Linked DNA regions of Homo sapiens: region 2 is linked to region 1. The links are contacts of gene promoters, found by promoter capture Hi-C in human tissues and cell types (Jung and others, 2019). All regions are on one chromosome and are shown on one strand. The core of a region is centred on a gene start or on the middle of the fragment in contact, and the rest is flanking DNA. Distances in the headings are between cores, read along the strand shown.

Region 1 (3,229 bases), core at 403-2,902:
TAAACTGTTTATTCTTCAGAGAAAGGCGTTTGGGAGCAGGTAGCACATTGGCGGGAGACATGGATTTTTGAAAAGTACTTGATGTTGAGCGTGGGTAGTGAGGAACTGCTGGGAAGGTTGCCTTTCAAACCAAGGCTCCCTTTTCTATGGGGGATTACCAGGCAAAAGGTGAGCTCTGCTGCCATTTTGAGGACTCGATCCTGGCAGCGATAATGAGGTAGTCCAATTGGGGAGCCTGGGACTCCCCACCAACTTCCTGGGTGTGCTCTGAAATTGAGTGACCTAGGACAAGCTCTCTAAAGTTACTCCTCCAGCAGAGGGAAGAGGCAACCGTGAGGTATTTTCGAAAGCAGTTAAATAAAAATTTGATAATCTATCTAAAACAAGCCACACTTAAAAAAAAAAAAAAAAAGAGTCTTCTTTCCTTCTTCTTATAAAAGTCCAGCGCGTTTCAAAGTCCTTTTAATTGTCAGGCCCAGAGAGACATTAGAATGAGACCACAATCATGCCCTACTCCTTCCTTTAAACTATATATTCATTTCTTAAAACTACATACTATTACTACAAATAGCTATAAATTAACCTAATAATACCACATCAAACAGTATAACCCACATCCTATGACTTAACTATATATAACTAATCACTAATCGACATTATTTCAATAAATCAGTATAAATTCCTAACAATGTTACATCAGTCCACTCCCCATCCCCCTTTTTTTTGCCTTTAAGAATCCACTTATAACTACTACTAATCAAAATATATATTCAAAACAACTTAAATCTATACTCCTGAGTTGCAATCCTCACACTTGGCCCAAATAAACTCTTACTTATATTAATTTCGCCTCACCTTCTTCCTTTTTAAGTCGACACTCCTTTCCCTGATACTTACCAGAAGGCAATTCCTTGGGCTCAGATTAAAACTGACAAAAATAGGAGCCATTCGAAATGAGGGAGCTTCTGAAAAGTTTGGGGATTCCGGAGTGTTCAGGACAACAGAATAGGGAATTCGAAAAAAAAAGAAAGCAAAAATAAAAATCGATTATACAAGCCTTAATGCACCCATGATTGTTATTCCCCACTTCTTTATTTATATGAATGAAGTTAGCATAGTTGCAGCAATGGAGTAACTCCATTATTATTTTTTCCCACTACGCATTTATTTTAAGTCTTTCTTTTTCTCAGGATGTTTTCCTGAGTGATGTCTGATCTAATGGGAAAAAGTGGAAGTAGGAGAGGCAGGACTTTAGAAGGGCTCAAAGTAGATGAACAAAACGGAGGTCTCCTGGAAGCAGGTGACTGAGTTAGGCAACCGAGATGCCCACATATCTGTGCGGCGTTCGCCCCAAGAGGCCAGCCGGCTCCGCTCAGCTCCCCGCGGCGTGGCCGCATCCCCGCCGCCCGACTCCCAGCCCGCTTCCTCTCTCCGCGAGCGGGGGGGGGAGCTGCAGGCGGGGCCCGAAGCGCCCCGGGGGCACGTGGAGCGGCCTCTGGCTCACCTGCGCCTCCCGGGCCCCAGCCCAGCGCCGCCGCGTCACCGCCCCTCCCGCGGCCCCGCCCCAGCCCGGCTCATTGGCTGCCGCTCGGAGGGGAGGGGAAGGGGCGGCTGCGGGGGTCTCATTAGCGATGCGGACTCTCGCCTCCGCTCCGTAGTTCGGGGCCCGGCAGCGGCGCGAGGGCTGGGAACTGCGCGGCGGGGACTGCGGGCGACTCCGGCATCCGCGCTGGCGGCAGCGGTCGCCGCGCCGTGGGAAGCTATGGGGACGCGCCCTTTCTCGGGGTGCCCATTCAGCGGCGGCTCGGAGCTCCCTGCCCCGCTGCTTTAGGAAGCGATCGTGGAGCAGAGTCACTCTCTGAAGACTCCCGAGACCCATTCGACTCGGGACCCTCATCGCCGACCCTTTCCCGGGCTCCCGGAGCGTGAAGAAGAGCCGCCCTCCGGAACGCGGCGAGGAGCATGGGGAGAGCGGCGGCCACCGCAGGCGGCGGCGGAGGGGCGCGCCGCTGGCTCCCGTGGCTGGGGCTGTGCTTCTGGGCGGCAGGGACCGCGGCTGCCCGAGGTAAGCGCTGGGCGGAGCGGGCAGCTGGGGGCGAGGGCGCAGGGGCGCCAGCCTGACGGAGCGGGACCTGCACCGATGGCGTTGGCTTCCCAACTTGCGCCCTGCACCTCGGCGCTCCAAGCCCAACCGGATGGGAGCCGAGTGGAGGACTCCGAGGGGACCACAGCCTTCCAACCCAAGTTTGCGATCTGCCGCAATCCTACAGGTGGCTGTGACCCGGGCCCCTACCGTTTTCCTGGACCCTCCTTGCCTGCTCCATTTTCCAAGCCCTCCCCAATTGCTGCAGACTGGAGTAGCCCGGTCTTCACTCCAATCTCGCTCTCCCCTCTCCTCTCCACTTCCTCTCAAGCCGAGCTTGGTCATGAGTTAGCGCCCATAGCGATGTCGGAGAGTTCCTGGGGAGAGGGGCCAGGTGATGGGAGTGTCTGTAGGGTGGGCTTGAACAGAGAGGGTGTCTTTTCCCTTAGGGGAGGAACACCCATGCTGAAGTCCCTTCGCTCTGCGCCTAGCTTGGCACCCCTCGGGCGTCCTTAGCCCGAGGTCCCAGCCAGCCCTGGAGCTCGGGAGAGCGGCGTGCACCATCCCAGTTTAACCGCGCCTGCAGTGCCCAGCCGGGATGAGCACTTGGCCCGAGGCTGCTCACCAGGCGCCTCCTCTCCCTTCCCGGCGCCTACTCTGGCTTGGAAGCGCGGGCCCCACCGAGCCGCAGGGAAACCTCTGCTTCTTTCCGACTTAGAAGCCTAGACCCCATTTTCTTGGATCCTCTGGACTCCAGCAGAGGGAAATTTCGCAACTGGTTTCAGCTCCACCTTGAGCGAGGACAGGCAGCATCAAGTTAAAGATAAATCCCAAGGAGTTGTTTTGAAGATGATCAGAGGCAGTTTCAGACACAGCTCAAGTACCGGAGCTTTACCTTTGAAAAAAATCGGAAGCTTTGCCTTCCCGCCCTTCTTTCCCTTTTTCCTTCTCTGTGTTCCATCCATCAGGCTTAGAATATGTGATACCGTTAAATGATTTGCCTTACACTTGCCAGGGGAGAGGTGGAGCTGAGCTGACCACTTCACCTGCTCTGTTCGGTCTCCTGAACATGCTCCGACCAGCCTGGAGAGTGAAAGGGTGGAAAGGGTTGAGGACGATCACAAAAGAACCAATGTTATCTCATTT
Region 2 (3,229 bases), core at 485-2,984, 95 kb after region 1:
TATATCTAACTTCCTCTAATCATCACTGACACTCATAAAATAGATGTTATTACTTCTCTCTTGTACAGGAAATTGTGCTCAGAGAGGTTAAATAACATGCTCAAAGTCAACCAAAATTTGATTTTGGAATTGTCCACTTCCCAAGTCCTATTTTTTACTGCCATACTATCGTCTCCAGAGTTTCGGCTCTATTTTTGTCCTCTAGGAAGATTACATATTTCTGATTTAAAAAAAGATAGCTTTCAGCATATAAAACTAATGTAGGTAGAGAATATTCCCAATTTTCTGTTTTTTATTGGGTTGATATATATATATATATATATATATATATGGGGAAAAAAAAGGATAGAAAAAGTAGACATCAATCTTGAAAGCAACACATTAGACTGGGGTTCTAATGAGACCGGAGAATAGACAAGCACCAGGAAAATGCCGAGTGCTGTTAATTAGCTTGTGTTCCTATCTGAAGTCTCACTCATCATTTTGTTTATATATTTCCTCCTCTGACTCCTTTCCATGTATTAGGCCATGATCGGGTATGCTATAGAGCTAAACCAGTTTAAAAAAAATTAAGAAAAAATGATTTTAAAAAGTCTGTAACTGGGGCCTAGTGCAATTGCCCCAGGAGGCCCTCAACCTAACCAGAGTTTATGGCTTCACCCCCTTCCTTGCCCTTACCTCTATACATGAGGCTCTTATTGTACTGAACTAATTCTATTATTATTTGTTGTTTCTCTGCTTGTCTCTGAACTTGGATCTTCTAGCACTTGAGCAAGTATGGGCAATGCTTTATTCAACTTGTAATAATAATAATGGCTAACATTGAATGAACCCCTGATAAATCCCAGGCACCCTGCTGAGTGCTTCAGTGGCAGTGCCTTATTTAATCCTCACAATGACCCTGTGAGGTAGGTGTGCTGATTGTTCACACTTACAAAGGAGAAAACTAAATAATAATTGGAAAGGCAGTAACTTTTCTGATATTTCACAGCAGCTAAGTAATTTGTTCAAAGGCACAGAGATACTGAGTAGTAAAGCTGGATTCACACTCTTAATTTCTCTGACTCCAGATTCTAGGTCCTTAACCTTAGTACATATTATAGTTTCCTTGTCTAATGCAATATTTGTCACATATTAACTGCTCAATAAATGCCTCTTAGGTGGAAAAAAGACTGTATTTATTGAAACAGGCTTGTAATTGGAAGATAAAGATTTGGCTTACATTTATGCCTCTTTTAGCTCTTGCTACCTTTTGTTCATATCACCTTTCCAGACTCCATTTTCTTCATCTGTAAAATAAAGGGGAAAGGGTTCAATGAAGTCTAAGGTCTCTTTTAATCACTGGCTAATAAAACCAGAAGTGGTGACTAGAAAAATAGTTCAAAACTGCTAGCTGATGCGCTACAGTTATGGGGCAAATAGCTATTGCATTATTCCAGCTGATCTTCAGTTCAGCCATCGTGGTATAATTCCATTTAGATCCAATCTAGATACGTTTTTGCAGGGCCTCTATCATTTTTCAGAATGTTTGAAAAACAAAATACATTTAGGCTTCTAACCTTGAGTTTGGAAATCTGAAATATACATAAGATGATATGAACGAGCCTGACTTTGATTACCATAGAGTGGCATAGCTGGGGGCTGCAATGAAAAAACCTATAAAATTTAACTCGAGATGAACCATGACAGGCCTCCTTAATGCGCGGATGCTTTGGCTTTCGAGTGTATTCTTTCACTGTATTATACAAAATGTGGATAAAGTGATAAGTGGGTTTAAAAATGATTGTATAAGTGAAGTGCACCATCTCACTGTAAAGTATTTGGCCCCAGGGAGACCACAAATGTGATGCAGCCTCATTTCCTTTCTTTTAAGTGCTTCCTGGGGCTGCTCAGGGTTGCTTTGGATGGGTTGGTTGGTTTGTTGTTTGCTAAGCTAAGATCATATTAAGTCTTGATTTGTTTTTTTTGGAAAACTGTTATCCAAAGGGGAATTTTGGAGAAGCAGAAATAAAGGCAGAGAGATTAAGAGACAGGAAAAAGAGGAAGATGAGTGAGAGATGAGAGATTAATTCACGACCCTGTATAGATTATTCGAAACAGTTTAAAAGAACAGGAGAGTTATATTGGGGGGCCATTGGGCTTGCTTGAAGTCCAGTGGTTCGATAAAAATTAAAACACATGAGTTCATGAGTATGGTAGCCGCCTTCTCTCATAGTTATAGACCCCTGAGCACTGATGTCATTTCTCTCCTGGGCTTAGTGAAATTAATATGTGATACAGGTTTCTTTGCTCCCTGAATATGGTGGATTGCTCAAACCCAGCACACAGCAGTAACCACGGAGCTTCAAGAGCACCCTCTGAAAACCAAAGGAGGAGGCCAGAGTTGTGTCTAGTCATCTTAGCCTCCTCGCCTGTATCACTTGCCCTGCTTGTCCACTGGCTTAGTGGTTAGCCAGTGAGAAAACAACTTCAGCCTGCGTCAGCAGTCAGTCTTGCTAGTCTTTGAATATGGACCATCCTTGGAGGGGGTGCTCTGACTCACACAGAAATCTTTTTAATGTTTCTTTTTCATCATGAATCAGTTCTCATGAAGAAGATTTGAAGGAGAATTGAACAGAATCACATCAAACCTCCTGACAGCGTAAAATAAGAATGGCCTTCGGAGTCAGCCTTGCATCCTGCCTCTATCACTACTGACTATAGGACATCTGCCAAGTGCTTCTGCTTCTCTCTATGCTGCATCTGAAGATGGGAAAACACATTTTCTTTGCCCAGATCTTGGTAGAGGTGGCAACAATACATATAAAGTATAGTTCCAGGCAGATAGCACATGTTCAATATTTGGTAGGCATCATTATGATTTTGATTTGCAGTTGTTTTCTCTTGCTGGAAGGTAGTAAACTCATCTTCTAATATAAGGATGCCTTACATTGAATCTTCACATGTCAGAATCTTCTAATATAAAGATGCCTTACATTGACATCTTCACATGTCAGAATGACTCAGCAAGGGCATTTTCTTGAGGGATATGACCATAAACTTTCTGATTCAGGCATAAACATGCTAAAATCAGGGTTAACATGATGCTAGGAGTATACATACCTAGCAGGTTTTTAAAATTCATGTTTGATATAGGTTGAGCTTTCAATGTGTTCAGTCTGCAAATATTTTGGAGGCTTTTACTATTGTACTGTGATGTAGCAGAATGGGTTTATTAAAAGCTCACTTT

The links. The method cuts DNA at HindIII sites, captures the fragments that hold promoters and counts their contacts. A contact is called where the count stands out against the background at its distance.
Region 2: a fragment that was not itself captured here is called in contact with the fragment with the promoter of UNC5D in region 1 in 2 of the 25 tissues and cell types used here (dorsolateral prefrontal cortex and spleen).

The regions. Positions count from the first base shown.
Region 1 is chr8:35,233,823-35,237,051 of GRCh38, forward strand. UNC5D (unc-5 netrin receptor D) reads left to right here and starts at 1,653. Exons shown (of 17, transcript NM_080872.4): 1 at 1,653-2,065. The coding sequence starts at 1,963. The HindIII fragment of the contact is 15,361 bases long and covers 1-3,229 here.
Region 2 is chr8:35,329,098-35,332,326 of GRCh38, forward strand. The region is part of intron 1 of UNC5D (unc-5 netrin receptor D); the gene reads left to right. Among named protein-coding and RNA genes, the nearest start is that of UNC5D, 95 kb to the left of the region's middle. The HindIII fragment of the contact is 4,750 bases long and covers 1-3,229 here.